Regions from separate parts of the Homo sapiens genome. Here regions 2 and 3 are each linked to region 1. Evidence: promoter capture Hi-C in 16 types of primary human blood cells and fetal thymus (Javierre and others, 2016). All regions are on one chromosome and are shown on one strand. The core of a region is centred on a gene start or on the middle of the fragment in contact, and the rest is flanking DNA. Distances in the headings are between cores, read along the strand shown. Region 1 holds the start of PNPLA2 (patatin like domain 2, triacylglycerol lipase). Region 2 holds the start of BET1L (Bet1 golgi vesicular membrane trafficking protein like). Region 3 holds the start of SIRT3 (sirtuin 3).

What was found. Contacts are between HindIII fragments. The CHiCAGO score rates a contact against its expected background, and 5 or more counts as called.
Region 2: a contact is called between the fragment with the promoter of BET1L here and the fragment with the promoter of PNPLA2 in region 1, in 5 of 17 cell types (neutrophils, total CD8 T cells, fetal thymus and 2 more). The highest score is 11.8, in neutrophils.
Region 3: the fragment with the promoter of SIRT3 here is called in contact with the fragment with the promoter of PNPLA2 in region 1 in 1 of 17 cell types (non-activated CD4 T cells); the score reaches 6.5 in non-activated CD4 T cells.

The regions. Positions count from the first base shown.
Region 1 is chr11:816,763-820,825 of GRCh38, reverse strand. It overlaps PNPLA2 (patatin like domain 2, triacylglycerol lipase), which reads right to left and starts at 1,912. Exons shown (of 10, transcript NM_020376.4): 1 at 1,868-1,912; 2 at 921-1,252. The coding sequence starts at 1,107. RefSeq lists enhancers at 278-327, 1,863-2,157 and a silencer at 778-1,667. The HindIII fragment of the contact is 6,852 bases long and covers 1,431-4,063 here.
Region 2 is chr11:206,149-210,211 of GRCh38, reverse strand. It overlaps BET1L (Bet1 golgi vesicular membrane trafficking protein like), which reads left to right and starts at 2,813. Exons shown (of 4, transcript NM_001098787.2): 1 at 2,813-2,909. The coding sequence starts at 2,891. RIC8A (RIC8 guanine nucleotide exchange factor A) reads right to left here and starts at 2,504. Exons shown (of 10, transcript NM_001286134.2): 1 at 1,274-2,504; 2 at 894-941; 3 at 212-805. The coding sequence starts at 1,357. It overlaps MIR6743 (microRNA 6743), which reads right to left and starts at 876; the gene lies at 806-876. RefSeq lists enhancers at 1,298-1,917, 1,893-2,062, 1,918-2,539, 3,086-3,587, 3,898-4,063 and 1 more and silencers at 1,122-1,231, 1,302-1,591, 1,592-1,790, 2,852-2,971, 3,082-3,141. The HindIII fragment of the contact is 6,341 bases long and covers 1-4,063 here.
Region 3 is chr11:234,207-238,269 of GRCh38, reverse strand. SIRT3 (sirtuin 3) reads left to right here and starts at 1,928. Exons shown (of 7, transcript NM_012239.6): 1 at 1,928-2,222. The coding sequence starts at 1,942. It overlaps PSMD13 (proteasome 26S subunit, non-ATPase 13), which reads right to left and starts at 1,294. Exons shown (of 13, transcript NM_002817.4): 1 at 1,126-1,294. The coding sequence starts at 1,220. RefSeq lists enhancers at 1,043-1,282, 1,443-1,632 and a silencer at 1,783-1,862. The HindIII fragment of the contact is 9,250 bases long and covers 1-4,063 here.

The DNA of each region.
Region 1 (4,063 bases), core at 663-3,162:
AAGGCCTCCATGAGAGGGAGGGGGCTGGAGGGGGCTGTTCCCAATAATAGCTCTAGTTATTGGGACCTGAGAGGTTCACTTCTGTGGTCCAGCCCCCTCCCTCCCAGGACAAAGTTCAGAGGAAGAGGGCAGGGGTGAGCCCCGGACAGGCTCCTGCTGAGCAGAGTGCCCCTGTCATCTTGGGTGTCCTCACAGGCTCCTGAAGTCGTGTGCTGTAAACATCACTCCCTCATGGCAGCCGATGGTGCGAGCCGAGGCCAGCCCAGCACACAGAGACCCATCCACTCCTGACCCAGGCACCAGAGCCCAGAAGCACCCTCACCCATGAAGTGTGCAAACGCGGTGGGCCGCAGCGGGGAGCCAGGCCACAGGGCACCGTGTGCAAGGAGAGGGCAGGAGAGCCCCTTCGCGCCCAGCCCTGACCTCAGCGGGGCTCCTCCTCCGGGCCCTTGGGAAGGACCAGGTCACGGTTCCCAGACGCCTCTCAAGAGGCTACCCCCATGCCAGGCCCCCTGATAGCAGCCTGCAACTGCGGAAGCCCAGGACACTGTGACCGATCGCTGGCACCGGTTGTAATATCCAGGGCCACGGGGTGACTTAGGTCCCTCCTCGGATTCTCACGGTCCCGCCCACGAGTTACTTTTTCTGTCCAATTAAGCAGCTTTTGCTGCACCTGCCCGCCCCCAAACCTTTGCGCCAGACAGGCGGGCCCCGGGCACCCTCGGAGCAAAACAAACCAGGCCCCGCCCCCAGGCCAGCGACCCGGATTGGATCCTCGCCGGGTTCCCCAGGCGCGGACCGGAACCCTCCCCACGGTACCCACCGACTCGCCGCGGGGCCCCTCCGCTCACGGAGACCATCCCCCGGCCCCGCACGGCCTTCCCGCCAGCCCCCCGCCTGCCGCCCCCGGCCCCGCTCACCCAGGCAGACCCCGGTGACCAGCGCCGTGGCCGTGAGCGCCCCGGCCGAGGCGCCGTAGATGTGCGTGGCGTTGGCCACCAGGAAGGGCGCGTGCTCGCGGAGGCAGGAGGCCACGCCGACGTAGTAGACGCCGAGGAAGCCGCAGCCCGCGAACGAGATGTTCCACGTCTTCTCGCGGGGAAACATCGCGGCGGCGGCCGCCGGGCCCCGGGTTCCGTGGGCGGCCAGGCCTCTGTGAGCCGCCTGCTCGCCGCTCGCTCGCTGGAGCCGGGGGCCGGGCAGGTCCCGCTGCGGCTCTAGCTCGGGGTCCCCGCTGGCGGAGGCGAAGAAGCTACGCGGGCGGCGCGGAGGCGGCGCTTTTAAGTGTGGGACTCACGGCGGGGGCGGGGCCGGCACACGAAGACCAATCGGGGCGCGCAGGGAACGGCCGTGCCCTCGGGACCCGCCCCCGTCCTTGACCCGGCCCCCCGCGCTGGAGCCCCGCCCTCCGCTGCCGCCCGGAGAAAGCTTCTGCCCTCCCTCCGCCCCTGCTGGGCACGGCTGGGGGCACACGCCTAGGGGTGTAGGGTGGGCTGGGCGCAGGCCCGAGCCTGGGGGCCGGAAGCCTCACACAGACCTGGGTACCGGCGAGAGGGAGCTCTGGTTTCAGGGCAGCCACCGCCCCTCCCCACCGGGTCCGCCTCCCACACCCACCCGGGACAGAGGAGCTGGTCCCTGGACAGAGGCGCACCGGCAGCACCCCCAGACCTGAAAGCCGCACAGGCCTCGGGAGCCCCGGGACCCACAGGCTCACCCACAGACAGACCCATAAACATCCAAGGCCAAGGCCGGATGCGAGTCCCGCAAACCCTTCGTGGGGGACCCCAGCTCCGCAGACCCACGCGACCTGACGTGGGGCCTCAGCCCTGCCCCGCGCCCGCGACCCTTCCGGACCTTGGCTTCTTACCTGGGTCTGGCCCTGCCTGTTCAGGCTTTGGGGCTGCCTGCGTCTGACTGGGGCCGCCCTGCTCCCGATAATTGCCCCAGAGGTGGAGCAATCCTGGGTGATGTCACCCTTTCACCCCTTTTCCGCATTTTTCTCCTGGTCAGTGGAGCAAACAGGGCTTGGAGTAGATCCAGGATCCCTCCCTGAACCTCACCCCACCCCCAAACGAGAGGCTTTCTCAGGTTGGGGTGGGAGGCAATGAGATTCTGTCTCCCCAGGAACACTGGCTCCCCAGGCTGAGGTCATCTCTGGACCTAGCTGTTGCCAGAGCTGCAGAGGGTCTGGGATGGGGCTTGGGGCTGCCCCCAACCCAAGCTGAGTTAGGGAAGCCAGAACAGGGCCAGAACAGGATGGGGCCATCTAGGGGGATGCTGCCCAGTCCTCAGCCTCTTTGCTCCCAGCCATCCCAGACAGCACTGGAAAGTCAACCCTGCCCCAGCCCTACTGGGGGCCGGTAGGCATTTACATAAGCTCAAAATGAGAGGAGGCCGGGTGTGGAAGCTCACACCTGTAATCCCAGCACTTGGGGAGGCCAAGACGGGCGGATCACAGAAAGTCGGGAGTTTGAGACCGCCTGGCTGGTGAAACGCTGTCTCTACCAAAAATACAAAAATTAGCCGGTCAGGGTGGCACACGCCTGTAATCCCAGCTACTCGGGAGGCTGAGGCAGGAGAATCACTTGAACCTGGGAGGCGGAGGTTGCAGTGAGCTGAGATCGCACCACTGCACTCCAGCCTGGGGGGCAGAGCGAGGCTCCGTCCTAAAAAGAGGCCGGGCACAGTGGCCCATGCCTGTAATCCCAGCACTTTGGGAGGCCGAGGAGGGCAGATCACCTGAGGTCAGGAGTTTGAGACCAGCCAGGCCAACATGGCAAAACCCTGTCTCTACTGAAAATACAAAAATTTGCCAGGTGTGGTAGTGCACGCATGTAGTCCTAGCTACTCGGGAGGCTGAGGCAAGAGAGTCACTTGAACCCGGGAGGCAGAGGTTGCAGTGAACTGAGATTGTGCCACTGCACTCCAGCCTGGCCAGGTGACAGAGCATGACTTCTTCTCAAAAAAAAAAAAAAAAAGAAAAAAGAAAAATGAGTGAGAGGAGGTAGGTAACCACGTGTGGGGCACCTAAGGGGTTCTGGAGGGCTTCCCTGTGGGAAGTGATGCTGAGTTGAATTTTGAAGGGTAAATGAGCAGACCCAGGCAGCCGACCAGGACAGGCGAAGATTGTCGGGGAGTGAGGGGAGAGAGTAGCTGAAGCCCAGCCATGGGAGAGGGTCAAGCAGGGAGGACGTGACCATACCTGACTTAAAGCGACTCCTTCTAGGCTGGGCACAGTGGTTCACACCTATAATCCCAGCACTCTGGGAGGCCAAGGTGGGGGGATTGCTTGAGTCCAGAAGTTTGAGACCAGCCTAGGCAACATAGCTTGATTCCATCCCTACAAAAAATTTAAAAATAGGCCAGGCACAGTGGCTCACACCTGTAATCCCAGCACTTTGGGAGGTTGAGGTGAGTGGATCACGAGGTCAGGAGATCGAGACCATCCTGGCTACCATGGTGAAACCCTGTCTCTACTAAAAATACAAAAAAAAAAAATAGCCAGGTGTGGTGGTGGGCGCCTGTAATCCCAGCTACTCCGGAGGCTGAGACAGGAGAATGGTGTGAACTCGGGAGGCGGAGCTTGCAGTGAGCCCAGATCGCCGCACTGCACTCCAGCCTGGGCGACAGAGTGAAACTCTGTCTCAAAAATAATAATAAATAAATAATAAAAATGCCGGGTACAGTGGCTCACTCCTGTAATCCCAGCACTTTGGGAGGCCAAGGCGGGCAGATCACAAGATCAGGAGATTGAGACCATCCTGGCTAATACGGTGAAACCCCATCTCTACTAAAAATACAAAAAAATTAGCTGGGTGCGTGGTGGCAGGCACCTGTAGTCCCAGCTACTTGCGAGGCTGAGGCAGGAGAATGGTGTGAACCTGGGAGGCGGAGCTTGCAGTGAGCCGATATCACACCACTGTGCTCCAGCCTGGGTGACAGAGCAAGACTCCGTCTCAAAAACAATAAATAAATAAAATAAAATAATAAAAATATTTTTAAAATAAAAAGTAAAATAAACAAATAAATAAAAACTAAGCCAGCTGTGGTGCGCGCACCTATA
Region 2 (4,063 bases), core at 1,564-4,063, 610 kb after region 1:
AAGAGCCAGAAGGGGCCTCTACTTCCCTCAGAAGCCTTTCCTGAGGTCCCAGCCCAGAACTGGCATCTCCTTGGCCTTGTCCCAACAGGCTGGGAGGTCCTGTCCTCTCCATGTCTGACACCCAGAAACCTGAAGGTACCCAGTAGGAAGCAGGTCCAGGAAATGTTGGAGCTGAGTTGAGACCCATCCATGGGTTAAGGTCAGTGCTCACCTCGTCCACCTCCCCCTTGATGGAGTCCAGGGTGATGTTGAAGAGCACTTTGAGGATCTCCATGGCCCGCTCAGTCTCTTGGGAAGGAAGGAGCGTGGGTGGGGGGTTCCCTTCAGGAGTCACCCCCAGCGTCAGCTCCAGTGTGTCAGTTAGCAGGCGCACTCCTTTCAGCTCCTGAAACAGCTGCTGGCGCACATCGGTGCGGAGTGCCGTTAGCAGGAAGAGGAGCCGCAAGTCAAAGAACTGGACATCGTGGGGGAAGCTCCTCTCACGGTACAGCCCCACACGCTCTGTGAGCTTCACCACTAGGCGGGCCTCTGCTGCCAGCATCTGTGCCACAGGGCTGCTGAGCACGAGGTTGCACAGGCACTTGAGGGACTCCAGTACAACATCCATGTCTGCGGACTCTGGGACGGACCCCTCAGAGACAGAGATGTCAGCATAGCAGGCTAGTGCCTGCAGGCTCTGGCGGCTGGTGAACGGGTCCAGGCAGTTGCGGTCCCGGGACAGGATTCGGACACTCTGCAGCCAGATGACACGGTGGGAGGGTGGCAAGCCCTGTTCCAGGACGGAGACCAGCAGCTCCGCCAGTCTCTGTGGGCAGGGAGAAGAGCGGCTCCACCAGGCCCTTCTTCCTGGGGCCACCCGTCCCTGCCCCTTTACCCCTTGGGCCAGCACCCACCTTCCGGTCCTCCTGTTGGGCATCATCAAACGTGAAGCTCTGGGAGTGCTGCAGAGAGAACTAGTGAATTCAAATCCACAGAGGGGTAGGATCCGCGTCCGCTGATGCGGGCGGCCTATTGGCCTCTAACTCAGGCAGCAGCCACTGCTCAGAACGGATGGCAGGGTCGGCACTCGCCCCCATCCCTACACGCCTGCCACCCAACGGGTGCACCCCCACTCTCCCCGCAACACTGCATCCCAGACCTGCCCCCCGCACCCCGCCGCGTCCCCTACGCTTGCTGACACAGCCTCTGCCTCACCCACGCCCTCCCTGCTACCCGCGCACGACCCTGCCCCACCCCCTCCGTGCCCGCCCCCCGGCCTCAGGCGGCCGCTTACCTCCTGGTTGTATGACCGCAGAGCTTCCATAATCACATCCTCCTCACCCGTCTCCACGGCTTCTGCAACCGCCCGGGGCTCCATGGCGCGCCGGGGAAGGCGGGACGGGCCCTTCCTCAGCCGTTCCGGGCCGCAGTTCGCCGGCCCCGCCCTGGCCCAGAAAGCCCCGCGCCAGCGCGCGGGGGAGGCCGGGACGGGGCGCGGCGTCTGGTGGCGCTTTAACGGGGCGCAGCGTCTGGTGGCGCTTTAAGGGGGCGCGGCCTGAGGCAGAACTGGCGGCTCGGAGGTTTTAAGACCCGAGTCGAGGGGCTGAGTCGCTCTGAACCGAACTGACCCCTCTCCTTGTGACCCGCGCTTCTTGGGCCAGAAGTTCCAACAGGAAACGATCTCAGCCCCCACCGTGCCCTGCCACACACACAGTGACGCCCCTCGAGCTCCACAGAACCGATGGGATGTAGAGGGGAAAGCCGAAGTGGAAAGGAATTTTCAGTCCTGGGCCATTGGGTTCGTTAGGCGTTTGCTGGGGAATGCAGGCGAACGGGATTCCCAGGTCCCTGCCTTTGTGGAGCTTATGTTCCAGAGGGGAAGGGGGACAAGGAAAAACAAAAGGACACGAGGCGGTCACAGGGCTGTGCTTCAAAAGAAGCAAAAGGCGACTGCTGGGCTGCAACGGGCTGTGAGGAAGTGCTGTTTTTGCTGACACCGGACGGTGGGAAGTGAGCCGGGAAAAGACTGGAGGAGCCACTCCAGGCAGAAGGAGCAGCACTTGCAAAGGTGGAGGGGCCGAGAGAAAGGGGAGCAACCCAGTCTGGCCTGGACTCAGTTCCCTCTTGAAAAGCAAAGATCCTGCGTGTCCGTTTCAGTGGCCGTCATGAGGATTCAGTGACGCACAGGAAGCGCGATCCACTCGCTCTTCTAACAAGTGCCCGGGAGCAAAGGCGTCTACGGCCCCCAGTCCCCGCGCCGCCTCCCAGTCTCTCTCCCGGCTTCACTTTCCTGTAGTGCGTTCTGTACGGCTGTATTCGACGCGGCGCGCACTCGCAGGCACGAGCGAGGCGCCGATCTCCACTTGACAGAGGAGGCACCCCTGCCCCCACCACACCCAGTGCTCCTCGCGGGCTTCTGCCCGAGGGGTCTGCTCCTTCCTCATGACCCGCCTGTGAATCCTTCCTAACCGTTAGGACCTAACCCACAGAAGCGTCTTTCCACCACCATCGTCTAGGCACTGAGCAAGCAAACGGCCCCGCCCCGCCCCACGTTCACAGGAACACCAAACGTCACATCCGCGGTGCTGCTGTAATCCCAGCACCTTGGGAGCCCGGCAGGCGGGGGCTGCAGTGAGCTGAGATCGCGCCACTGTCTGCGCGACAGTGCTGAAAATAAGCCACAGATATGCCCATCGCTTCCGCGCCCGGCAGTTCCCCACCCTCGGCCCTAAGCCGGAAGTCAGCGAGCCCGAAGCGGAAGGGGCTGGGCTATCTAGGGGCGTGGTCGGTGCGGAGGCGGGGCCATCGCTAGCTGGGGGCGGGGCCGGAAGCTCTTTCCCCGCGACTGCGCCACGTCTGAGGCGGCTGTGGCCGCGTCGGTGTCCGCGTCGAGGAGCCGGGGCAGGGCACGATGGCGGACTGGGCTCGGGGTGAGCGCGGGAGAGCGGAGCCGTTGGGGGCAGGGCCGGGCCGAAACCGACGCCGCTGCCTGTAGAGCCGCGTGCGCCTGCCTCTGGCCCAGCTGGGGTGACCTCGGCCGAGAGGACCCTGTCAGGGGGGCGGATTCGGATCCTTCCGGGTCCGAGCAGGGCCGGGTTTCGGCCGGCACTGCCGTTAGGACCGAAGGCGCGCGTGGCGGCCCAGCAGCTCCAGCGAGGGGTCGCGCAGCAGCGGGGTCTCCCCACTCCCCGCCGCCCCCTGTGAGATCGTTCTGCATGGGTTCGGGGTGAGCGGGAGTCGGCATTCGACAGGTCCCGAGGCCAGGCCCTAGGAGTAGAGGCTGTGCTCCGCTGGTGTCCAAGCAGGACTCTTACTTTGGCCTCGGTGGCCCCATTTCCCCTCCTGGAGCCCGTGTTCTTGTCTGCAAAGTGGGATATTGATGCCTGTCTCTGTGAGGTGTTATGATGATTAAAGGAATTTATAAATATGAAGTGGCTGGAAGGACGCTGGCATCCCTTCCTGACACTGAAGCTAGGGAGGAGGTGGTTCTCACGCACCTGATGTGACAGAACTTCCTTATCCCCTGGCCCAGCCTGTCACAGGCCAGGCCTCTGCGAGCACTCTGCCCTGGGTGTTGCAGGAAGCCCCATGCGGGATGCAGACCAAGGATCCCGCTCCTGGTCGACCTCAGCTCCCGTCTCGGGGAAATTGGGAACTTTGCTCAGCCATTTTCTGTGCGGTAAAGGGCCTTCCCAATGTTCTGTCCTGGTTCCTTGCCACCTCTTCAGGACCTAGCTCAAAGGTCGTCTCTGCAGGAGCCTTTCTGCTGCCTTGCTGGGTACTTTTCCCAAGTCTTTTCTATGCTCTTAGCAGAGTTTACTCTTTTTCTATAAGAATGGGCTCCACATACACAGATGGTGACCTCCCTGGATGCAAGTGTCACATCATACTAGCACCCCAGGGCTGGGTCCAGTTTTTGCTACACAGTCTCAGAAGGTGCTGGTTGGACCGAACCCATTGTGGGTGCTTGCCCATCCCCACCTTGATGTGTACACAGGACATGTGTTCACATGACAGGCCCTTACACACATCGTCCTTTATGCAGCCTGTCTCATGTGCAAGATTCACCTGCTGGAACCTTGGT
Region 3 (4,063 bases), core at 679-3,178, 580 kb after region 1:
ACATATCTAACTTGAGATGCTGGCTCTTCTACCTATTAGCTGAGTATCTCAGGGAAGGCAATTAAAATGAGCTTCAGTTTCCTCCTCTGTGAAAAGGATGAATAAAGGATTAAATAAGCTAATATTTAAAACCTCAGGGACAGTGACATAGCGCTTCATCCAAAACCCAAAGGCTAATATTTAATAACGCAGATAAAATGCTTTGAAAATTACCAAGTGCTATCCAACACAAACCATTATTTGCCAAACATTAATTTGCTCTCAAAAACTGCTAATAGCAGAAGGCTGCTGAATGCTAAACATCATCAAAACATGTATGGAACATCTATGTGAAAGGTATTATATTAAATGCTAGGGTTAACAGGGAGGTTACTACAGGAGATGTATTTTCTATGGAATAGCTCCAGCCCAATGCCAGCAATTTATTCTACTCATATTAAAAGGAGGTTAGTGCTTAGCAAGAATTTAATTGCTCTGCAATTCATCCTGTTTCTAAACAAACCTAAACTTTAAGATCTTTCTAGGGGCAGAAAGCCCATGAGAAATACAATGGAAGGTAAAGACAATGGGACGGCGGAAGTGGTTGCACCCCGTGCAACCAGCTGCAGAATGAATAGGGAAAACAGCAAAGCTGTACTAGCCTCTGGTTTATCAACTCCAGACCATGAGAAAGATAACTGTAGATACAGTTACACTATGACAAGGCTAAGCACGAATCACCAACATGTTTCCCAAAGTGGGTGGTGGCCCTGAAAGTGTGTTTGCTTGTTAGATGGAATCAAGAGCTAAAATCAAAGGCTACTCCTGAACCGTTTTAGTAAGACCCGAGGTAGGAGTTCAGAAGCCTCAGTCTCAGTCCCCCGTTAAGGAAGCAGTGAATCTCAGACCGAAACATCCTGGCTACAGCTCTTGGCCCTCGTGGTCTGTCATCCCTCTTATTCCTCGACCCTGCCACTCAAGGTTCCTCAGCAAACCTTGCCGGCACAGCCGGTCGCTACACGTCCCCGTTTCCCCCCAACTTGGGTCTGGGCGCCCTCAGCCCATCAAGGGTCCGCTCCTCCGCCCGCCTGCCCCCTCCGTCTCCCTCTATCGCCGGGGCCCAGGGCCCGTCTGCTCGGCGCTCACTTCTTCGTGTAGAGCTCCTCCAGACGGTGCCACACAGCGGGCTGCCCGGGCCCGGAGTTCTGGCTCTGCTGTAGGAAGCCCGGTACGTCCTTCATGACAGCAGGAAGACCCCCGGCACAGAAGAACAACCGGGATGTCAGCACCGCGGGGATGGCTGCCGGAAATGCTCACTCACTTCCGGCGCCGAGCGGCGCGGGGCAGGCTGGGAGCGCCGTAGCAGGCCGGGGGCGGGCCCCGCTGGTTGCTCGGTTACAGCGCGTCTCTGCGCTCCGGACAAAACTCTCCGGCGTTTGCAGCCCACTTCCCGCGCACTTGGCTGTGCCATTGAGGCGTCAAAGAGTGTGGGCGCCTGTGGTCGAACCCGCTACGGACTAGCTTTGTGGTGTCAGCCTTTGTGACCCGGAATTGCTCCTGTCAAATGAGGATCTTCCCAGTAGTGTTTTGCGAGGATTAGGTGTAAATATAATGCCTGACCATAGTAAAAGCGCTCAGAAAGTATTAACTATCACCGCCATCCGGGTTGAAAAAGGTGTGAGCGCAGGGTACAGAAATGCTGGCTCCAGGTTTGACCTCCGGGGCGAGAGATGAGACACCAGACTAGGGAACTTCCTCTACTCGCCTCTACGTCTACCTGGGCGCGCCGGAGGCGTCGGCAAGGAGGCGGGGGCGGGGCGCGGAGGCGGGACCGGGGCGCCGGGGGCGGGGGCGGTAGGCGGAGGCGGGGCTGGGGCGCCGGGGGCGGGGGTGGGAGGCGGAGGCGGGGCCGGGGCGCCGGGGGCGGGGCGAGTCCGGAGGACTCCTTGGACTGCGCGGAACATGGCGTTCTGGGGTTGGCGCGCCGCGGCAGCCCTCCGGCTGTGGGGCCGGGTAGTTGAACGGGTCGAGGCCGGGGGAGGCGTGGGGCCGTTTCAGGCCTGCGGCTGTCGGCTGGTGCTTGGCGGCAGGGACGATGTGAGTGCGGGGCTGAGAGGCAGCCATGGGGCCCGCGGTGAGCCCTTGGACCCGGCGCGCCCCTTGCAGAGGCCTCCCAGACCCGAGGTGCCCAGGGCATTCCGGAGGCAGCCGAGGGCAGCAGCTCCCAGTTTCTTCTTTTCGAGGTATTTTGGGCAAGGACAAGCACTTCTTGCGTGTTCGTTGTCGACACCTCGCCCACTCTTTCTCACCTTGCCGTGTTTCCTTTGCGGCATGTCTGGGAGTTTACGTGCGTTCCAACACCGGGGCCTCCGTCTTTATGCTGATCTGTGGACGTCACTTATGGGGGTTTTGTCGTTTATTTCACCATTCCCTCATTGAAATACGTTCTAACCTTTAGTTATTGTGCATCATGCTGTGGTGAATAACCTTGTTGGCACCTCACTGTTTGCATAAATTCCTAGTACTGGGATTGCTAGGTCCAAAAGTATATGCATTTAACGCTTTAATGATCCCTCATAAATGTTGTGCGGTTAATACTCCCACTGGCATGTGATCGTACCCGTCTCCATAGTAATTGCATCTAAGAACTGAGGCTACATAGGAAAAAATCTTAAGGTCCATGGTTGTTAGGTATCAGATGCCCTATAATGGATGAATATTTAAGTAAATAATGGCACATTGACTTGCTGTCTGACACAACTGCTGAAAATGTTGGTGAAAAGTGAGTCTCGAAGTGGTAGCTCACACTTGTAATACCAGCACTTTCGGAGGCTGAGACGGGGATCGCTCGAGGCCAGGAGTTCAAGAGCAGCCTGGGCAACATAACGAGACCCCCATCTCTACCAAAAATTTAAAAATTAGCCGGGCATGGTGGCGCAAGCCTGTTGTCCCAGTTACTCCTGAGACTAAGGCAAGAGGATCCCTTGAGTCCAGGAGTTCAAGGCTGCAGTGAGCTATGATTGAGCCACTGCACTCCAGCCTGGGTGACAGAGCAAGACTCTTATCTACCTGTGGGAAAAAAAAAAGAAAAAAGTTTAATAGATCCTGAAGAGTTGGCCGGGCGCGGTAGCTCACGCCTGTAATCCCAGCACTTTGGGAGGATGAGACGGGTGGATAACGAGGTCAGGAGTTCGAGACCAGCTGGGCCAACATGGTGAAACCCCATTTCTACTGAAATTACAAAAATTAGCCGGGCGTGGTGGCGGGCGCCTGTAATCCTAGCTACTCAGGAGGCGGAGGCAGGAGAATCACTTGAACCCGGAAGGCAGAGGTTGCAGTGAGCCGAGATGGCACCATTGCACTCCAGCCCGGGCGAAAGAGCAAAAACTCCGTCTCAAAAAAAAACAAAGATCCCGAAGAGTCAGTCGTTCATCCAAGAAGCCCTGACTGAGCTCTTATTCTGTGCCAGACTCTGTTCTAGGTGCTATGGATGGAGCAGGGACCAGGACCTACAAACACGTGGAGCGCATTCTAATATCTGTGATACTCTGCAAAACTGTTAAAACAAATCCTTGCGGCCGGGCGCGGTGGCTCACGCCTGTAATTCCAGCACTTTGGAAGGCCGAGACGGGCGGATCACGAGGTCAGGAGATCGAGACCATCCTGGCTAACACAGTGAAACCCCGTCTTTACTAAAAATACAAGGAAATTAGCCAGGCGTGGTGGCGGGTGCCTGTAGTCCCAGCTACTCGGGAGGCTGAGGCAGGAGAATGGCGTGAACCTGGGAGGCGGAGCTTGCAGTGAGCCGAGATCGCGACACTGCACTCCAGCCTGGGCAACAGAGCGAGACTCCGTCTCAAAACAAAACAAAACAAAACAAAACAAAAATCCTTGCTACCACTGGCCCTAAAGCAGGAGGCATAGGGCTGCGTGTGAGGAGTAGTCCATTGCATGGGCTTCCTCCAGTTTGGCTTTGGATTTTTGAGCTCTCTGAATTTGTTGTTTGTGTCCTTTGCACAGTGTCCCTCCCAGGTTGCACCCATGCCTGCCCCTCAGGGTCCCCCACTCCCAGTGAATTTCACAC